Regions from separate parts of the Homo sapiens genome. Here regions 1, 2, 3, 5, 6 and 7 are each linked to region 4. The links are contacts of gene promoters, found by promoter capture Hi-C in blood cells and fetal thymus (Javierre and others, 2016). All regions are on one chromosome and are shown on one strand. The core of a region is centred on a gene start or on the middle of the fragment in contact, and the rest is flanking DNA. Distances in the headings are between cores, read along the strand shown.

Region 1 (2,940 bases), core at 369-2,868, 350 kb after region 4:
AAGCATATCATCAATTCAGAACTTAGCTATGTAGTAACACCAGCAAGGAGTACACAACTGAGGACTGGGAAATAGGCAAAAACAATGTCTTGAAATGGCCCAAAATGACATCCCAAAGTTCATTCACTTAAGTTTGCGTACTTTCCTCAAATGAAAGCCATTTGGGCCCTTTTAGTGGGAAGTTTCCTTTTTTTTTTAATTTTCTTTTTCCTATTTGAAGTTATTTCATTATTAGCACCTCTTCTCTTTGTGCTGCCTTTGCCTTGTTCATTCCATTATCCTAGGCACTGTCGTCCAAAAAAGACTAAAGTAGTAAGTTGGCTTATCACCCCATGACAACTCCTAAGCATAATAAGCATGTGCCCAAGGCAAGAGTGACACTGACATGGAGGGGAGGGTCCCATGTGGCACAGTGACAAAATTTCTGCAATCCATCACCTTTAAAAGGAAACGCATATGATTTGGGCTTAGAAGTGAAAGAACCCCACTAATGATCATTAAAGACTTATGTTCCTAAGGATAACAACCAGCTATGCTAACCTCTTTCTATTCATGGACTGAATGCACCTAGGAATCAAATGGTTTCAGGTCTGTGCTTGGCTTCCCATTCATCTGGTTTTCACAGATAAAGGATGTTCTGGACTTTTTCCTGTAATTTTTTCCTAACAAAGTCATTGCATCCTAACTTCAAGGTCATGGTATTAGCTATAGTAGATAAGCTGCCATATATATATGTTTGTGTATAGATATATATATGTGTGTGTACATATATATATGTGTGTATATATATGTGTGTGTGTATATATATAATCCCAAAAGTCAGTATCTTAAAATGTAAGTTTATTTCTTGGTCAGATAACCTTCCAAACAAGTGATGAAGATTCCCCTAGGCGGTGAGTCCCCTAGGGCCTCTAGGAGACTCTAGGGCCATGTCATCTTCATAGTTGAAGCTGGTTCCAGACAGCGGAAGGAAAAAGAGAGCAGAGAGGAGTCTCAACTCTGCCTAAAAGGTCCTGTCCTGGGAGAGGCACACATGGCTTCCACTTATGTTCCATTCTCTTGGATTGAATGACATGGTTACACATAAGTGCAAAGGGGGCTAGGGAGTAGTTTAGCTGCATTCCCCAAAAATCAGATTTGAGAGACAACACTTGGTCCATTCCACAACTATCCTTCAGTAGTCTAAGTGAAGTTTTGTTCAATTAAACATTAAACAGAGGCACAGAAAAGTTAAATAACTTTCCCTAATTTACACAGTTAGCAAGTAGCCAAGTTAGGATTTAAGCCCAGAGCCCATACTTTTAACCACTGTATATATTAACTCTAAAAGTATTAACATCTAAAAGTATTGGCATCTATAGGCCGGGCGCGGTGGCTCACGCCTGTAATCCCAGCACTTTGGGAGGCCGAGGCGGGCAGATCACGAGGTCAGGAGATTGAGACCATCCTGGCTAACATGGTAAAACCCTGTCTCTACTAAAAATACAAAAAATTAGCCGGGTGTGATGGCGGGCACGTGTAGTCCCAGCTACTTGGGAGGCTGAGGCAGGAGAATGGCATGAACCCAGGAGGCGGAGGTTGCAGTGAACCGAGATCGCGCCACTGCACTCCAGCCTGGGTGACAGAGCGAGACTCCGTCTCAAAAAAAAAAAAAAGTATTGGCATCTATAATCATGACCTGAAGGCCCAGAAGCCATAAAAAAAAAAGAGTCACATATTTGACCATACAAAACTTAAAATCTCTGAACTAGAAAAGAGAATAAACAAAAGTAAAAGAGAAGCAATTAACTTGGAATTAATATTGACTATAAACACAATAATGAGTTAATCTCCAAAATATGTAATAATTTCCTGTAAATCAATTTTTTAAAAACAGAAAAATGGGCAGAGAACAAAAATAGGCAATTCACAGAAGAAAATAAAATGCCTATATAAAAACACAAGCCAAGCATGCGATGGCACATGCCTGTAGTCCCAACTACTCTGGAGGCTGAGGCAGGAGGATCACTTGAGCCCAGGAGTTCAAGATCAGCCTGGACAAAATATAGCAGAGCATCCCTCTCTAAAATAAAATAAAATAAAAAAGACACACACTCTACTAATGTAAAGCCTTTGCAAGTTAAAATATGGCACTATTTTAAGCCTATCATATTCAAAAAACACTGAAGATTCCTAATATTCTTGGTGAGAGTGCTCAGAAATGAGTATAGAGCTTAAATTGCTTGTTTTTTAAGGGGAGCTTAGTGGTAGCTATTAAAATGTTGACATACAATTCAGTTACTAGGATTCTAGTTTACAAATATAATTGAACATGTGGGCAAAGCTCTCCAGAAGACATTCACTCATGTGTTGTTTGTAAATATCGGAAATCATCTAGATGACAAGGCAAAGAAGATAGTCAAATAAATGATGATACCTTCCTCACACATTCACCTTAAGAAGAAAATGATTGCTCTGTAACGACTGACATAGAAAGAAAAGATTTCTTTTTTTTTTTTTTTTGAGACGGAGTCTCGCTGTCGCCCAGGCTGGAGTGCAGTGGCGCAATCTCGGCTCACTGCAGGCTCCGCCCCCTGGGGTTCACGCCATTCTCCTGCCTCAGCCTCCCGAGTAGCTGGGACTACAGGCGCCCGCCACCTCGCCCGGCTAATTTTTTGTATTTTTAGTAGAGACGGGGTTTCACCGTGTTAGCCAGGATGGTCTCGATCTCCTGACCTCGTGATCCGCCCGCCTCGGCCTCCCAAAGTGCTGGGATTACAGGCGTGAGCCACCGCGCCCGGCCAAGATTTCTAAAAAATAAAAATGCTAGCCAGTCGCAGTGGCTCACACCTATAATCCCAGCACTTTGGGAGGCCGAGGCGGGCGGATCACTTGAGGTCAGGAGTTGGAGACCAGCCTGGCCAACGTGGTGAAACCCTATCTCTACTAAAACTACAAAAA
Region 2 (2,717 bases), core at 135-2,634, 470 kb after region 4:
AACTTCTGACCTCAAGTGAGCCACCTGCCTCGGCCTCCCAAAGTGCTGGGTTTACAGGTGTGAGCCACCGTGCCCAGGCTCTCTTCACTTTTTGTACACACTCATCCTGCACTGTCTCTGCTGAACTTTACACACTGACTTCTATGGAGTGACCACGTCATGCAGTACCGAGAAATGAGTCTTAAAAAAAAAAATTAGAGTCATGTTCAAATGAGCAATCTGCCTCTTACCATTTATGCGACCTTAGTAATGTTACTTAACCTCTCTAGCCTTACTTTTCCCTTCTGCAAAGAGAAAATAATTCCTAACTCACTGGGTTTTTGTTTTTGTTTTTGAGACAGGGTCTGGCTCTATTGCCAAGTCTGGAGTTCAGTGGTACGATCACGGCTCACTGCAGCCTCTTGACCTCCCAGGCTCAAGCGATCCTACCACCTCAACCCCCAGAATAGCTGAGACTACAGGCATGTGTCACCACGCCCGACTAATTTTTAAAATTTTTTGTAGAGACGGGGTCTCATTCATTGAGTTTTAAAAGGAAGCAAGCATATGTAAGGCGCTTAACACAGTATCGTGTACTTAAAAGGCACTTAATAAACAGTAGCTGTTACTATGAAAATAATATTTACCTCACAAAACTGTTCCTACATGCCTGACGCTTAAGTAGCTCCTCAAAATATGATAGTTTTCCTCTTCCCCCGTCCTTGGAAAAACTTTCTAGTTCTTTCCAACAAAGATTCAGCACCTAGTTCAAATCCAACAAAGATTTCCCCAATTCTGCTGCAAAGGCATTTGTATATTTACTAAAATCTCAACACTCACGCAGGATAAAACCTACTTAGAACTACCCAGACATCCTTTCTTATCTTCTTAACTTTAAGTCACTGGAAGAAAACCATCACATTTTGCAAGTCCCCAAAAAGCATGCCTGCATAAAAGCTCTAGGGAAGGGAACCGGGTGTCCAGATGCATTTCAGAATTACCATAGGTTTCCTTGCTCGGCATACAGAATAAATGTTGGTTACACTAATGATACAACCGAAGTTGGGGAAAAAAACTTCAGACAATGGCCCGCAAATCTCAAGGAGTAATTGCGAAAAGATGCCACGTGGTGACGTGTTCTAGGCGGGTGATCAGTGAACAAATTTGTATGTGTGATCCTGTGGTGTGTGAATGTGTCATCGTGTGTGCCTGCGTGTGTTCGTAAACACTGAAAGTACAGTCGTGTGCGCCGAGAAGTCTGAGCGCGGGTGCGCATCCCTTTGGACCCGGGTGCGTACCTAGTGAGCAACCGTGCGAACCCTCACGGGGCTCTCCTCCACGCGCTTACCTCTGCGGACGAGCAGGTGGACGCCACTGGGCGCCGCCATGTTGGCGTCGGTCACGTGGCCGCGAGCACTCGCTCGCCGCCCCGCCCGCTGGAGCCGGCCAGTCGCAGCCCTGCCGAAGCCCTGAGGCGTCGAGGCCGCCCGAGGGGAGCGCGCGTGCGCGCGCGGGGCTGACTGCGGGAGCCCTGGCTGGGAAGCGGCTAGGGCACCCGGGCAAGCAGCAGAACCCGCGGCCGGCTGAGTCCTCTCCAGCCGCGAGAGGCGGGCTCCAGCCGCGGCTCGCGCGCTCGCTCTGAGCCCCCGCGCCCAGGTGGGATGGAAGAAGCCTGTCAGGTAAGCGTGGCATCCAATATTTATAGCATCAACATTTTGGTGCATGGAAACGTGAAGTTGGGCGGAAAAAATAAAGCACAATCTAGTGTTCAACATAGCACTTTGTATCGTCTGCCACTCTGTTGCAAATTATTCCCCTGGATTCAGTTGAAAGGTAAAATTTGGTTCAAAGTCACCAGCTCCCCTTTTGCTGTCCCAGAATCTACATTACTCAGCAGAGACTCCAGACAACACAGGATCTGTGTGTCGCTGCAAAATCTATTCTAGGTACCCCAGTGGGTATGTTCAGGAGACTTCTCTTTCTCCAAGGACGCCTTCTGCTTGGCAGTATTAACTGGAGTCTTAATCCTAAATTTGGAGTTTAAGTATAAAAGGATGACGCCTGCCAATTGCATTGCCAAGAGAAGAAGCCTACAGAAGGCCAATTGTGAATCAGATGAGGGAGCTGATGTATGCCTACTGATGACGGTGCCCATTTTTACCAAATTCACTGTCTCTCTTACCTGTGTTCTGGGGTAGATGCCATCCTGTCATGGACCAGGTGTTATTCATCTTAGTAGCCTCCGTGCCCGGCACAGAACCCGATACCCGAGGAATGTCAGGTGAAGCAATTGAACACTGCATGAAACCAGTCAAACTGAGAATGTAACCGTTTCCAGACTTTAAATGCAGTGAAGATTGATTAGGATTCTCAGTGAATGTGTGTGATGTCTTCTAATTAATTTTTAAGCACTACACACTCAGTGAATAATCTAGACAATTCAGAACAATTCAGAAATAAGGAACAAGTGCAAGCCCCTTCCTCGCCCTCTGTACATACCATAGTCCCACTCCCCAGTTAACCACCGTGTGCTCAATTGAGATCTTTGCCTTTTACACACAGGCAAATGTAAGTATTTTAAATAGAATCATATGACTTGCTTTTTCCATTCCAGTCATCATAGGCATCAAATCTTAGAACACTTAGTTCAGACTTATTCTTTTTAATGACTATATAATCTTGATATTTTTACTTTTAAAGAGAGTGAATGTTGGCATTTCATTAGAGGACACATGCTA
Region 3 (3,062 bases), core at 171-2,670, 390 kb after region 4:
GAATTTTTTTTTCTGCAGTTGATGAATGTGACTACTGCAAATGTGCCTCTGTAGTTAGCTATCATTTGTTGTTCCGTGACAGGAAAAGGATAATTACCTCTCAGAGAGAATCAAAGGCTGACATGCCCTTTAGACACAGCCATGAATGCAGAGCTCGATAGAATGCTTGAATAAGAATCTAGTGTTCTCTGCCCCCTTCTACTGAAGAATAAATTTTGTTAAAATGCAAGAGCACCACCAGTAAATTTGTTGAACCCTAGGTGTTCAAAAATATGAGGTGCATCTATCGACTCATCCCATTTGCAAAAATAAAACTGCATTTTGAATTCATTTCTATTATATTCATGGACAGTAAGATAGTGAGATATGCATTAAATTTCTTTTCCCAGTAGGGGTCTGATTCAACATTTCCTATGAAAGAACAGAGAGACACTATCCTTTTTTCCCAGGCTAGTTAGCCTATAATTTAAAACTGTCAAAAACACAATTTTGTTCAAAGTCTTCAATAAAAGCTTCTCAGATATAACCCAAAGAGATTTTACTAAAGTTTGATTCAGACACTGTTACAATATTTTTAAAGCCATAAATACATTTAACTGATATTTTACTGGCTTTTTTCTTAAAGTATTTGAAGGCTTACGAAGAAAAAAAGGCAGCATCTTTTCAAGGTGACTAAGCCTTCCATCCTTTAGACAAATGGGAAGTATTCAATGGTTCATATTAATGAGAACAGTACTTTAAAGGGCACTGATGTGATCATCTTTAACAGAATGCATTACTTTAAAATGAAAACATATATTCGGCATGTCTACTTCAAAACAGTTATGGGGGAAAAAAGACCTAAAAGTAGGTAACAGATTATAAAGAAAAGTCTTAAATTCAGAAAACACACATACACATACATTCAAAAAGTAAGGATAGAATACTCTGTGAAAAATAAACAACGGTTTACAGGAAAAATGAACCAGACAAAAAAAGAACAGAAGATCACCGTTTCAGGCTATTTGTTAATCTACCAATTTGAAAGGTAAGGCTTGCTTGAACTAACACTTTATTATCTTCATATCACAGAAATACATTTCACTTCATTCCTTTATAAAATTTAGTTTTTCTCCTGTCTTATTAAAAACCCCAGGGTTGAGATGCTCATCCCCTTCTTAGGTACTCCCTTCCATATTTGGTGTGATTTTGAATAAAGGGAAACTATAGACCAGTATGTCAAGCTAAAACAAAAGCAGCCATGTAAATATTGCTTGCTCCTTCTATAAGTTTCTTTGCTGACCCTGGTATAATTCATTTTTATAAAATCTTTTTTTTTTTTCAACTCAGGGAACAATATTGCAGCCTGGCAGTTCACATACTGATATCAGACTGAAATGATGGTTCTGAATCATAAAACATGTCATCAACTTTATACCAAGCCACCAATAACCTTTGTACCATTTGCCAACCCTCCCTTTACTTGTCAATGTAAGGCTTACCTGATTGTGTTTCCAATTACAGAGAAGGGAGCCCCTGCTCTGCAAGCTGCAATTGCTTCATCTCTACACCTCCTGGCAACCTCCACTAACTTTTTACCACATTCGTCCACATTGCCCACCAAAAATGTTTCAGAGGTGTCTCCATGGTAGCCATTGTAATAGACCTAAACATAAGCAGAAATTTAAAAATATGTCCTTGTTTAAAAATCTACTTTCCTAAAGTATACATTGTATTCATTTATGTATTTAGTAGACTCATGTTTTACCCTTCCAGAATTATTCATTTGCCTATCAAAAAAAGAAGAAATAGATATATTGAAACCTTGCAGAAATTTAAAAGATGAAGCCATGCAATGATATTGCAAAATTTAAAAACAACTATGTTAACTAGTATGGTTATTTCAGCATTATGATGAACAATACTACTGTAATATTTTGATTCCTCACTTTATTTCTGAGAAGACAAAATTATATAAGCAAAAATTAGTAGCCAAAGACCTTGATCTACAATTACCACAACAGGTTTAGAGAACCAAAAAGTATTTAACATAGTGAAAAGTTTCTTCAATGTCATGAAGACTTACTTGATTTTGTATTTACCAGTTCTACATTTGAAGTGATATATAATGACAAGAAGAAGTAAGATAGACATGTCTGTATTCTAACAAACAAATAGGAGAATTCAGTTCTAAGAATTGAAGTGGTTCCATATAGGAATGAAATGTGTTACAGAAAAATCCTATGTCTAGAAGTGAAATCTTAATCAAATGTTCCAGACAGCCGAACGTTAACAGAAAGCACTATATATGGATATCTAAAGAATTAGAATATAATAAAACAAGCTTAAAAGCACAATTACAGAAAGTATAATTTTATCAGTCTTCAGTGATTCAGAAGCCAAGTAGGATCTTGAAAGATACCAGATTCATTATAAATCATTGATAACCAAGCACTATAGTAAATATAAAAGGCAGAGGCAACTGTTTGGATACTGATCCTTTGATGTAGCATGGAATTTGCTACTTTGCATAAATTTGTCCTATCTAATTATTTTTCACATTTCTCTTGCTCATAAGGTAGAATGTAGAAACTGTTATAAAAAAGATGTTTATATGAGCTTTCAGTCTGTTGTGATACTGAATTAATGTCTTAAATCTGTATACTACTCTGCATTTCTTAAAAAATGCTCTCATATTCTGTGAAGGAAGCAAGAAAGGTCTTTATTAGATCTTCAGTTTATAATTCAGGAAACTGAGGCACAGATAAGTAACTTGTTTAAGGTTGGTGGCAGAATATAGAGGTAGATTCAGGTTAATATGATGGATTATTGGCTTCTAATCGAGTGTTTTCTCTACTATATCAAATTATCTTAATTACCTTGCAACAGAATAGTGTTTTATACATTTACTCCCACTTACAGTCCTTTGCAATCCAGGAAAGTATGAGTTTTTATTTTATACACTTGGCAGTATTTCACTTTGCTTCATAGGTTTTACAATTTTGAAATAGTTTGAATGTTAATAATGAAACTATTAAAAGTCTTCAGGAAACTTAGAAAAGGAATAGAGTATTCTCTTTGGA
Region 4 (2,831 bases), core at 7-2,506:
ATAAAGTACTTAGCTCTATATAGTTGCCTATTTTGTCCAACAATACCCTTTGCCCTCTCTTGATACCTAGGGTCCTGAATGCAGAAGGTAAGTGAAACTGTAAGACTAAGGGAGCCCTCCAAAATACATCTCTTAAGGCAACAATGTAAAATCTAGTATTCCAAACTGCAGCTACCATCCAAACTAACAAAAAAAATGGGTACTTCTCTATATACTCCCCAATTTTTTTATTTAACAGCATTAAATGTTCTCTTCTTTACTGGAGATGGAAGAAAAAGACTCAGATTTACTTTAGGATCTTGTAGCTGACAATGTATCAATGCCAAACAGGAGAGTTACTGTTAGTCAGAGAGACGGGGACCACAAACACCACCAGGTGCTCATTTCAGTATCAATTTAAACCCACTGTGTGACCTATATCCAAATTTTGCACTCCTCCATAAGTAGCAATACAGACACAGGTTTTAATCTTGAATCATTACAAAAACATTAAACAACTTTAGACAGAAGGAAAAATGCCAAAATGTTAAAAAATAAGTCTAGATACTGAGATTGCCAGTGGGTTTTTTTATTCTTCATAGGTCTGTGTATTTTACCAGCTTCTTAAAATTAACACATATTAGTTTCTAATAAAAGAACACATGTTATTTCTTTTCTTGAGATGGTATCTTGCTCTGTCACCCAGGCTGGAGTGTAGTGGCACGATTTTGGCTCACTGCAGCCTCTGCCTCCCAGGTTCAAACAATTCTCACGCCTCAGCCTCCTAAGTAGCTAGGACTACAGGCGTACACCACCACGCCTGGCTAATTTTTGTATTTTTAGTAGAGATGGGGTTTCACCATGTTGGCCAGGCTGGTCTTGAACTCCTGACCTCAAATGATCCACCCAACTCGGCCTCCCAAAATGCTAGGATTACAGGTGTGAGCCACCGACGCCTGGCCAACAAATGTTATTTCTAAAAGATGAAGAAGCAAGAGAAGAACATAGACACGAATCTGCAAATCTACTTAGACCGAACATATCAAACGAGGTTTGGCTAGAGCTTCTCAGTACACTAATTGCTCTGCTCAACCTACAAGAAGCCAGGTACACTGGATGTCAACATGCCTACCTCATGGTATCTTCTACCTATCCAGAGCCCTTAACAAAACAAGTCTCTATCTGAGACAGGAGGGAAAACTTTATCTCTGTTAGCCAGCTCTCATTCCAAAGGGGTCTGATATTTAAAACTGTCTTTCTCCCAAATATTTTAACAGCATGTGAGAACTTTTGGCTGATGAATACAAGATACGCTCATTCATTCTCTTCATTGCTATGAAATGAGTTTTTCCACAACCTCCTGCAGAACCTCAACACATCACTAGGTGGCAACATCCCTACACCATATCGGTTTAGAAACCACGGTTAGGAGGAGCAGCAAAACACGCGGCATCCCAGTATGATTCAGAAGTAAAGTAAGTAAATATTTTCAGGGCAAATAAAAAACAGTCAAGTCTGATGCAATTAAAAGAAGTCCTCTCTACAAGAATAAATGTTTGTCCCCACTCTCCTCCCTCATGGAAACAGTACAGGCAAGCTGCCGGAGTGAACGCTGAGTGAGGGAAAGGAACGCACCATCGTTATCAAACTCGATCCGCGTGCATGGCCCCCGGGCGGTGATGTCGCAGCTGTACAGCCCTCCCGTTCTGTTGGCTCTCTGCAGTGGAAGCGCTTCTGCCCGCGGGGCCCCCACGAGCAACCTGTTGATGAAACAGAGACAATTTGGAGATTTGAATTTAATATACGTTTAACAGTTAAATCAGTCAGAACTAGGAGATAGTGGGATTATTCTTTGTCTAGGAGTCCACTAATTCTTCAACAGCTTAGGCAGTGAGTGAGAACAAATGTAGAGTCCTATGGCTGGTTCATGCAAAACGCACAAACACAACTAAACAGGGGAAGCCAAAGAGGGGATACCAAAACGAGGAAAATAGGCCTGTCTCTCATAGTATCAGCATTTCTTGCTGGGTATGATCTGGTGTTTAAAAGACACCCTCTTCAAAGAATACAACCTCTAAGCCCCTATGATGCCAGGGATATCATATGAAACTCAAGAGAAGAAACCAAATACTTGTGACAATGGAAGGAAAAAATGGCCACACTAAATGTAATAAGCAATAATATGTCAGTTTCTAACACTGTGCCTTCCTGAGGTAGTTTTCAAGGGTAATTCTGACTATATCTTAGATTTTCAGTTTATATACTAATTGAGAGAACCTAATGGTAAGTAAGATACAACTCGACTGAATTATTCACTTGCAGCCTTGGCCTCTTTCCAATTCTTTTTTTTTTTTCCCTCCAGTTTTATTAGGGTAGAATGGACAAATAAAAAGCAGATATATTTGAGGTGTACAAGTTGATGTTTGTTCTTCCAAGTCAGTTCTTACTTCCTTGCACTTTTGTCACATTACAAGAGTTCGTCCTCTCTCATCCTATCAGTCTCCCACAAAGGATTCAGGGACAACTGGTGTAGCTCCACTTATGTACTAGGCACTGTAATATTCCTTCTTCTCCCCAGCCGAGTGTTTTTATCTCCTATAAGGAGGCCCCCAGTCCAAATCCACAGTCCTTAAAATTTCACCATCTCACAGCTTGACAGGCTCTTTAGAGATCCAATGACCTTGTTGCTAGGTCTCTTTTGCTAACACCTTTACTCACCATCAGGTTTACAATCTTTGAGGCCTGGCTGACTCATGGAACAACTAGGACAAGAAACAAAGACAAAGAACACACACCTGACTGGACAGAGATAAACCAAGAGCTGAGAGTTTTGGAAACAAGGCTGGAGCTGA
Region 5 (2,700 bases), core at 81-2,580, 380 kb after region 4:
TGTCCCAGGATCCGGAGATGGTCAGCCCGGCAGGACCCGGGCCGCTCAGACCTTGTGGCTTTTTGCTGAGGCCGCAGAATGAGGACAGCGGACGGATGAGGACCTGGACTTTACCAGCGCACAGACAGAGCAAAAGGAGACAGGAGACTGACAGGACAGAAAAGAGCTTTTGCTTTTTCTACATTTTGTTTTTGTTTTGTTTTTTCCTGATAGTCCCACAAAGCTGAAGGTCGGCGGGTCGGGTGGAGCGGGTTTATCTTGCTGCTTGGGCTGTCTCAGGTGGCAGTGGCTTCCCTCCGAGGCCACTCTCTGCTGCCACTGCTCGGCCCAGGCCAGGGTTCAGGCTAGAGCGCGGATGCCGGGAAGTTGCTGGGCCGGACCTCGCGGGGCTCCGAGGAGATGGAGGGCGTCCCGCCTCCACTGTTCCTTCTTCCCTCTGGGTCCTTCTTTTCCGGACGGGATGGATGGACCTGGAGGCGGGAGGGACCTGGGCCGGGGAGACAAGAAGGAGACGGGCGGGCAACCTCACATAAGTTGGGGTTGCTGCATAGCTTCTTGGTGCGCTGAAGGGTACCACGATGTGTAGCTGGGGATATAGGAGCCCGCGTTTCCTCCTGAGCCCTTCCCGGATGAAGAGTTAGGGTTCCAGCCGGGCGGCACGGGTGGGGAGCCAGCAGACAGGGCCCGACCGTTGGCCAACGCACTACCCTCCAGAGCCGCCCCACCCTGCTTCATCAGCTTCTTGAACTTGGATCGCTTGTTTTGGAACCAGATCTTGACCTGCAAGAGCGGACAACAACGTGACTCAGGCTGGGACCACTGAGCCTACCTAGGTCACAGGGAGGAAAAAAGGGACCGCAGAACAGCAGAGATAGGACCTCCCAACCCTGCGCCAGCTGGCAGCTCCCTGCCAGAGAAGCAGAGACATCCCTCCTTCCTCCCTTCCCCCATAAGAGCCAAAGGCTCGAAGGCCGAACCTCCCGCCGCCGTCAGCCCACGGGGGCAGCTCTCAGAGAGCCAGGGAGGAGTTGTGATGAGGGGAGAACCGGGATCCAGGCCTTAGCCTGCCAGGGGCTCAGTCCGACCGTGGCTACCGCCTGCGGAAGATACAGCGCCTGCATAACACCGAGCCAGCAATTCCAATATCAACATCAATAAAAAGAATCGAAAACCTAGGAAGGAGTGGAGGAAATTTATTTGCAACGCGACCCAACTTTTCTATGCGCCATCTTTTCTGCCCTTGAGTTGGGACGGACTAAGGAGGCCTCAAGGTTTTGCTGAACTTCTCTTTGGATTCAAAACCATTCTTGCACTAGTGTCTGTTTGCTTTCTCCAGCTCTGCTCCAAATCCCGGACCGGACGTCGGAAACCCGCGCCCGCCGCCGTCAGGAACGCTCACGGGCTCCCCGGAGTCTTACAGAAAGCCGGGAAGGAAGGTCCCGTTTCTTCTCTAAGGTCTGGGACTTGAGAGGTGAGAGGGCGGAGGAAAGGATCTCCCCCCACCCCCAACCGGTAAGAAGGAGGAGGAGGAGGGAGGCTGAGGCGCGGACCCAGGCCCCGAGTGATTAGTCACACAATTTAAAGGCAAAGGAGGGATTAAGCCCGGAGTCTATTGTTCCAGTTGTTTAGGCACGTGTGACCTCTGAGTTCCCAAACAAATCGTCTGGGGAAATCCTTCCTGCGCCCTAATCAGATTGTCCAGGGACAGAGGGCCGGACGGCAGGCAGCTCGGGATACCGAGAGCAGTGACAGAGCTAGGGCAGAGGGAATGAGGGAGGAAGGAGACACGCTGAGAGCCAGGGGTGGACACAAACACATACACACAGTGACACCCCGACCCTGAGTCCCAGCGAGCAACAAATGAAGACCCGGGCGCAGGCCGGCCGCGGAAAGCCTGCGTGGCAGAACGGAGCGGCAGCGGCGAGGTACCTGAGTCTGTGTGAGTCCCAAAGAGGCCGCGAGCTCCGCCCTCTCCGGCAGAGCTAGGTACTGAGTTTGCTGGAACCTCCGGTTCAAAGCCTGCAACTGCAAACTGGAATAAATCGTCCTGGGTTTACGGATCTTTTTTCCCTTGCCATTGAAGCGCACTTCACCGCCTTCCACCACCGTGCTCTTCTCCGAGTCCGCCCCTGGAGGGACAGCAGAAGTAGGGCCCGTTGTTAATACGAGGGGCCGCCTTTAGTGCGAACAGCCGAGAGCGAGTGGCTACCGAAGGGTGGCGGAGGCAGCACCAGGGAGAGAACGTTCAAGAAACTCTGAAAGCCAGGGAAGGGTCCCCCAAAATCCGAGGGCCTGTCCCGGGACGCTGCAGGAGGGATAGAGCCGTTCCCAGGAGCTCAGCTCCTGCCTTTGCAGGGAAAGTTTGCTATTTTTGCAGGCGGTAGTTGAGGTTTAATTACCCTTAATTGCATACATTGTTTATAGCGCTACGCAATAAATAATTACCGAGACTAATACGTGCACATGTGGGTTTCTGTTTTCCAGCGGGGCATTGTGTGCTCTGCACACCGAGCCGCCCAGAGGCCCAGCCAGTGCCAGGAGACGCTCTGGGATTTATCCTTGGCTGGATAGTTGCAAATTGAGGGAATTTTTAAAAAAATTTATTTGCTGTGACAAGGATCTATAGATTGATATTCGAAACCTCCACTGCTCCCGCGCCCTCCCCACCCCCACCCCACCTCGCTCTCCTCTCTTCTCTTT
Region 6 (2,717 bases), core at 182-2,681, 510 kb after region 4:
TATTCTGGTAGGTGGGTCATTATGAAATATTTTTAGATTGTATACTATTTAACTATGGTCATTTCAAGTTCCAGTGTTCTGTACTTTATTACACATGAACATGTTCATATGGAGCAATTTTTGCATTTCCTCATTATTGAATAAAGCGATATGCCTGATAATTAGTAATCTATTTTTTTAATGTTTATATTTGTATTTATACACATTTGAAAACCCAATAACCTCTCTAACATCTTATCTTAAGCAGCACCATTTGTCTAAATTTGTCTAGTTATTTTTGAGATTGAAATTAAAGGCACGTTAAGTAGGTGGTAACATGTTGTTCTTTACTTGGCTAAAGTGGTACATAGACTTAACTATAATTCTAAGACTACCTAAAATATGCTAAAAAAAAAAAAAACAAGCAAAAGAAATTCTGTATCTACTTAATGTTCTCAATCTCATGTTCTCTGATAATATTTAAGCTTTAACTACAGAATGTATTGTTGAGAAATTAAAAGTGTGAACTTTTTCACTAATGGAAAAACAAAGGTCATATTATGTTTATTTACACTGCATTAGTATTTTGCTACTTGAACTAAACAAGATAAACTTGTCAATATATACTTTTAAAGCTCTTTATGATATTTCATAAAAAGTATTACTTATCAAGAACACCATCACAATTTGAAATTTTACTAGTCTACCAAAGATTTTTTCGAAATTTCTGGAAGTATGTAGGATTTTCCTAGAAAGAGGCTAAACACTCCATAAAATTTTTAAAATCTGCTCTCATATCCTCTCAAATTCAATCCAATTAGTGGGACACTAGGATAAAATAACTGAAATTCACAGTTAATACAAACTTTATCCATCTATTTCAACTTCCTGTACCAAACTTTTCCCAGAAATGCTAGCAATTAGCAAGACAACAATCTTAGTTACCCACTACTTCACTAAAAGGCAATGAAATTACCCCCAAGAAAAGGCAGGAGGTTTTTGTTTTTAAGACAAGAGTCTTGCTCTGTCACCTAGGCTGGAATGTAGTAGTGTAACCATAGCTTACTGCAGCCTTGACCTCCTGGGCTCAAGAGATCCTTCTGTCTCAGCCTTCCAAGTAGCTGGGACTACAGGAGCATGCCATCATGCCTAGCTTTTGTTTTCGTTTTTTGAGACAGAGTCTTGCTCTGTCACCCAAGCTGGAGTACAGTGGCGCGAACTCGGCTTCCTGCAACCTCCACTTCCCGAGTTCAAGTGATTCTCCTGCCTCACCCTCCTGAGTAGCTAGGACCACAAGCACGCACCACAACACCTGGCTAATTTTTGCACTTTTGGTAGAGATGAGGTTTCACCATGTTGGCCAGGCTAGTCTCAAACTCCTGACCTCAAGTGACCTGTCCACCTCGGCCTCCCAAAGCGCTGGGATTACAGGTTTGAGCCACCACGTTCAGCATTTTTTTTTTTTAATAGGCAGGGTCTTATTATGTTACCAAGGCTGGTCTCAAATTCCTGGCCTCAAATGATCCTCCTGAGTCAGCCTACAGAGTAGCTGGCATTACAAGCACAGAGCAGGAGGTGTTAATAAAAGCAAAGGTCAAGGACAACCAGATGAAAAAATCATCAGTGTCTGAATAATCAAGTTTATTGTATTGTAAAATTCAGAATTATGTTTCCTTTAAAGATGGTGGCTAGTAGAGATTTTATAGGCATCTTAATTGTGACTGAAGAATTTTAGGTGCAACTAGAGCATTCAGCTTGGAAAAGTAAAAGAATGGATGATTAAAAATTAATGTAATGACATAATCCTAATAAGAAATAACTTCTAAGCAGATGTTATGGCTGCTGACCATCTATGCAGTATGATCTGCAAAGCCCTAATATATTAGACTCAAACCTAACATCCAAAATAAAATTTTTTTATTGTTTCCACTTAAACCTATTTCTTCTATAGTTTTCCCAGTTAACAGTACCATAATTGAACTTGGGCAATGGGGTTCTCGTTTTTTTTCTTCATCTGTCACATCTAATTCAACAGCAGACCTCCAAAATGTTCCTTACTCTGACAACTAAGTCCAGTGTCACCTCTAACACTGCAATGTTCCGGTCTCTTCTTTCACTTTTGCCCTATACAGTGTGTTCTCTGCACAGCAGCCAGAATCATATTTTAAAAATATAAATCACATTGTTTATGACCTCCACCTACTTAAGAATGCCTCTAAAGAATGCCAACTACTCTTATTTCTTGCAAACACCTATCACAGAACACAAGATCCTATATGATGATCTAGCTTTGCATCCCCTTCAACCATCTCCTACCCCTCTCTCCATCACCACAATGATTTAACCCTGGTAATCTTTCTGGACTACAAAAATGCCAAAAATGCTGTATTTTTAGAGCCTTTGTATCTTAGTAAGCTTTACCCTCAGATTATAACATGGCTGGTTCCTCCTTTATCATTCAGAAATGAGCAAAATGTATCTTCATAATACTGCCTGAATTTAATTTGTGTATTTACTATTTTGTTTACTGACTGTTCCTCTTGGCTAGAATGTAAGCTCCATGACTTTGTCTGCCACTGTATCGCTGGCATCAACAACACAGAAGGCACTATGGAATGAACACTCACTGCAAACTGAGATAGAAGAAGCAAGCCCATGACCCACATATCCCCTACCCAATCGTTTTTAATAAGGGGAAAAAAGTCTTTGTTTGAATACGCAATATAAATGATCTTTGA
Region 7 (3,020 bases), core at 460-2,959, 480 kb after region 4:
GTCCAACCACTGTGGAAAGCAGTGTGGCAATTCCTCAAAGAGCTAAAAACAGAACTACCATTTGACCCAGCAATTCCATTACTAGGTATATACTCAGAGGAATATCAATCATTCTACCATAAAGACACACGCATGCAAACATTCACTGCAGCACTATTCACAATAGCAAAGACATGGAATCAACCTAAATGTCCATCAGTGACAGACTGGATAAAGAAAATGTGGTATATACACACCACAGAATACTATGCAGTCATAAAAAAGAACAAGATCATGTATTTTGCCAGGACATGGATGGAGCTGGAAGCCATTGTCCTTAGCAAACTAACACAGGCACAGAAAACCAAATACTGTATGTTCTTACTTAACAAGTGGGAGTAAATGATGAGAACACATGGACACAAAGAAGGGAACAACAGATACTGGGGCCTACTTGAAGGTGGAGGTTGGGAGAATAGCAGAAAAATTAACTATTGGATACTAGGCCTAGTATCTGGGTGTTGAAATAATCTGTACAAGAAACCCCCAAGACACTAGTTTACCTATGTAACAAACCTCCACATGTACCCCTGAATCTAAAAGTTAAAAAAGAAAGAAAAATCATATTGAAAAAATAAAATTACCAGGATAACCTTAAAGAAATGTTTTAAAGGTGTCAGATGTAAAATCTTAGAAGCAAAGTGTGGAAGGAATGATAAGTATTTAAGAATGAGGTTTATTGTAAGTATTTAAGAATCATATCATCACACATTAACATATCACAACTAAGCATTTATTATACTGTTTAAGAAGGGAAGCAATTGCAGTAGTATTTCAGAAGCTTTATCTTTCTTTAAATGCAATATATGCTCATAAACTCTAAACAGTATTTTAAAATATACAATCTCTCCAAAAGAAAATATTCAACTAAAGATAGATAACTTTTAGTATAAGCAAAATGTCACAAGATTTTAAAATTAAAGTCATCAGATTTTTCACAGCACATTGTACAGAAAATTTGCAAGCTTCCTGTACAGAGCAGTATAATCTTTACTCTTGAGCAAGTCGTTCAATAACACGCCGGTAATCTTCCACTAGTTCCTGAAAACTCTCTTCCAGCTGTTCATGTTGCATGCTTATTTCTATTTGGTTCATCTGGTTTGTCAGTTCTTCTGGTCTGAGACATTTTCTCATCTTAGCAAGATCTCTCTGCTTTTTCTAAGTGACAAACAATTATTTGTTAGACGAAGAAAGTAAATATATTTCCTTATAGTCTTACAATTTTAAGTCTCCAATGTTAAAAATAAGAATAGTATGAATACGCCCAAACTTGTCCCACAATGTTTTTTTTTTGTTTTGTTTTGTTTTTTAAGGAAGCTTAAACATAATGTTAACCATGAATTGCAAACCCTCTAAAAAGAGTTAACAAGAAGACCTGGTATTTGTGTCCAATGATGGTAAATACAGACATGTGACTAGCAGCCCCCTCCAAAACTTTAAAGAACTCTGGGCAGTATAGACACTCAAATATTTGCTTAATAGATAGAAGACATTAGCTGAAGAAAGACAACTGAGATTAAGTGCTATTATTCTTCATTTTACTATTCAGTCATTAATTAATTACATTTTAAATTCCACCCAGTGAAGTACTTACGGGCCACATGCTAATTTTAACATAAACTGTTAGAAATGTTTCAGAAAGACAAATGGAAAACTGCTATACTTTAAAAATATATTAAATAGCATTTGAGTCTTTATTAAGTTCCAGACATACATTATCATACTAAACCCTCCTGGTTTGACTTAGGATACCGCTATGCTAAGGAGTTTGCAACAGGTAGCTGATAACAACTTTTATGCAGGACACTGTGTCAGAGATGTTTAGGATGGGACTGGAGGACTGGGCAGCTACTGCAGTAGTTCAAGCCAGAGTTGATGAAAGCCTAGATCAAGTCAGCAGCAGCAGAGATGGAGAGGACAGGGCAGATTTAGGGGAGAAAATACTGGGTGATATGAGGAAGGAAGAATGAAGAATAACTCCAGGATTCCTGGTTGGGTGGCATTATTGCAAATATGAAGCTTTCATGTTTCGGATATACTGTTCTAGAACTCCTGGGCCCAAGTGATCCACCCACCTTGGCCTCCCAAACTGCTGGGATTACAGCCATGAGCCACCACACCCGGCCCAGTTCTGGCCTTTTAGACTGGTGAACTGGCTGGACAGGTAAAGGTACTTAATAATAATATAAAAAAGAATTATCATTCTTTAAGAGTAGAAAATACTTGCACTTATGAACTACAGAGGTTCCCATTATTTGGCATTAGCTGTGTGACTACTATTTGTACTCAGAATTTCCATCTTTCATTTGTTATATTTTATATAAAAGTCACATTAATATCTAAAATATATAATTCAATAAATTATTTTACTTTAGTAAAATCTTAATAACTCTTAAATGTTGCCATCTATACTGCTCTCTGTGCCCAAATTTCATCATTAAGACATTTTCTAGCTAACAAATATTACTTAAAGGTCAAAACCTTTGGAAAATACCATTTTTACCCATTTTCTGATGTTTCTGAATTGATAACATCAAATAATAAAATGCTACTTTGGATAACTTTTGAGGAGACCATTATAATTTATTACAAACCTGCTATATGCAGATGATGGTCTGTAAAATAGAAAAACTATTAAACTGCAATGAAATGACACTATGAGGAACTATTCATACATCTGTGTATGAATTCAAGATAAAATGATTTAGTCATAGGCAAATAATAATTTTATATTCAGAATGTGAACAGAATTACAATGACAAATTAGGAAATACAGTTGCACTGCAAAGTAAAAAGATGCTATGAAGGAAAAGTTGGGATTCAGCAAGTAGTGTCAGCCAATGAACCATCAGCATTCAAGACTGGCTCTATAAAGCAGAATCCATGGCAAATAAAACTTAAATTTTCTTTAAATTTACAAAGGAAAACCAAAACTATGTGTACCTGATACAGTTAGTTAATTTACTTTCTCAAATTGTAAT

Evidence for each region. Contacts are between HindIII fragments. The CHiCAGO score rates a contact against its expected background, and 5 or more counts as called.
Region 1: a fragment that was not itself captured here is called in contact with the fragment with the promoter of ITGA6-AS1 in region 4 in 7 of 17 cell types (naive CD8 T cells, fetal thymus, activated CD4 T cells and 4 more); the score reaches 8.0 in naive CD8 T cells.
Region 2: the fragment with the promoter of METAP1D here is called in contact with the fragment with the promoter of ITGA6-AS1 in region 4 in 1 of 17 cell types (activated CD4 T cells); the score reaches 5.2 in activated CD4 T cells.
Region 3: a fragment that was not itself captured here is called in contact with the fragment with the promoter of ITGA6-AS1 in region 4 in 5 of 17 cell types (naive CD4 T cells, total B cells, total CD4 T cells and 2 more); the score reaches 7.9 in naive CD4 T cells.
Region 5: a fragment that was not itself captured here is called in contact with the fragment with the promoter of ITGA6-AS1 in region 4 in 4 of 17 cell types (total CD4 T cells, naive CD4 T cells, naive CD8 T cells and 1 more); the score reaches 7.1 in total CD4 T cells.
Region 6: a fragment that was not itself captured here is called in contact with the fragment with the promoter of ITGA6-AS1 in region 4 in 2 of 17 cell types (total CD4 T cells and naive CD4 T cells); the score reaches 5.5 in total CD4 T cells.
Region 7: a contact is called between a fragment that was not itself captured here and the fragment with the promoter of ITGA6-AS1 in region 4, in 1 of 17 cell types (naive CD4 T cells). The highest score is 5.0, in naive CD4 T cells.

The regions. Positions count from the first base shown.
Region 1 is chr2:172,110,787-172,113,726 of GRCh38, reverse strand. No RefSeq gene overlaps it. Among named protein-coding and RNA genes, the nearest start is that of DLX2-DT, 9.3 kb to the right of the region's middle. The HindIII fragment of the contact is 7,472 bases long and covers 1-2,940 here.
Region 2 is chr2:171,998,620-172,001,336 of GRCh38, reverse strand. It overlaps METAP1D (methionyl aminopeptidase type 1D, mitochondrial), which reads right to left and starts at 1,384. Exons shown (of 10, transcript NM_199227.3): 1 at 1,328-1,384. The coding sequence starts at 1,367. It overlaps LOC124905590 (a long non-coding RNA gene), which reads left to right and starts at 1,428. Exons shown (of 3, transcript XR_007087296.1): 1 at 1,428-1,658. RefSeq lists a silencer at 1,390-1,689. The HindIII fragment of the contact is 8,153 bases long and covers 1-2,717 here.
Region 3 is chr2:172,069,490-172,072,551 of GRCh38, reverse strand. It overlaps METAP1D (methionyl aminopeptidase type 1D, mitochondrial), which reads right to left. Exons shown (of 10, transcript NM_199227.3): 6 at 1,482-1,645. Among named protein-coding and RNA genes, the nearest start is that of DLX1, 14 kb to the left of the region's middle. RefSeq lists an enhancer at 1-761. The HindIII fragment of the contact is 1,811 bases long and covers 515-2,325 here.
Region 4 is chr2:172,464,447-172,467,277 of GRCh38, reverse strand. It overlaps ITGA6-AS1 (ITGA6 and PDK1 antisense RNA 1), which reads left to right and starts at 1,256. Exons shown (of 2, transcript NR_157573.1): 1 at 1,256-1,454; 2 at 2,704-2,831. ITGA6 (integrin subunit alpha 6) reads right to left here. Exons shown (of 26, transcript NM_000210.4): 2 at 1,615-1,739. It overlaps PDK1-AS1 (PDK1 and ITGA6 antisense RNA 1), which reads left to right. Exons shown (of 4, transcript NR_199657.1): 4 at 2,704-2,831. RefSeq lists an enhancer at 846-1,015. The HindIII fragment of the contact is 13,641 bases long and covers 1-2,831 here.
Region 5 is chr2:172,086,083-172,088,782 of GRCh38, reverse strand. DLX1 (distal-less homeobox 1) reads right to left here. Exons shown (of 3, transcript NM_178120.5): 2 at 1,930-2,129; 3 at 1-780. The coding sequence ends at 526. Among named protein-coding and RNA genes, the nearest start is that of DLX1, 1.9 kb to the right of the region's middle. RefSeq lists enhancers at 1-565, 1,179-1,790, 2,405-2,700. The HindIII fragment of the contact is 3,945 bases long and covers 1-2,700 here.
Region 6 is chr2:171,959,575-171,962,291 of GRCh38, reverse strand. All of the region lies in intron 4 of HAT1 (histone acetyltransferase 1), which reads right to left. Among named protein-coding and RNA genes, the nearest start is that of HAT1, 38 kb to the right of the region's middle. The HindIII fragment of the contact is 1,930 bases long and covers 467-2,396 here.
Region 7 is chr2:171,981,362-171,984,381 of GRCh38, reverse strand. HAT1 (histone acetyltransferase 1) reads right to left here. Exons shown (of 11, transcript NM_003642.4): 11 at 696-1,197. The coding sequence ends at 1,030. The region is part of intron 2 of LOC124905590 (a long non-coding RNA gene); the gene reads left to right. Among named protein-coding and RNA genes, the nearest start is that of METAP1D, 17 kb to the left of the region's middle. The HindIII fragment of the contact is 702 bases long and covers 1,359-2,060 here.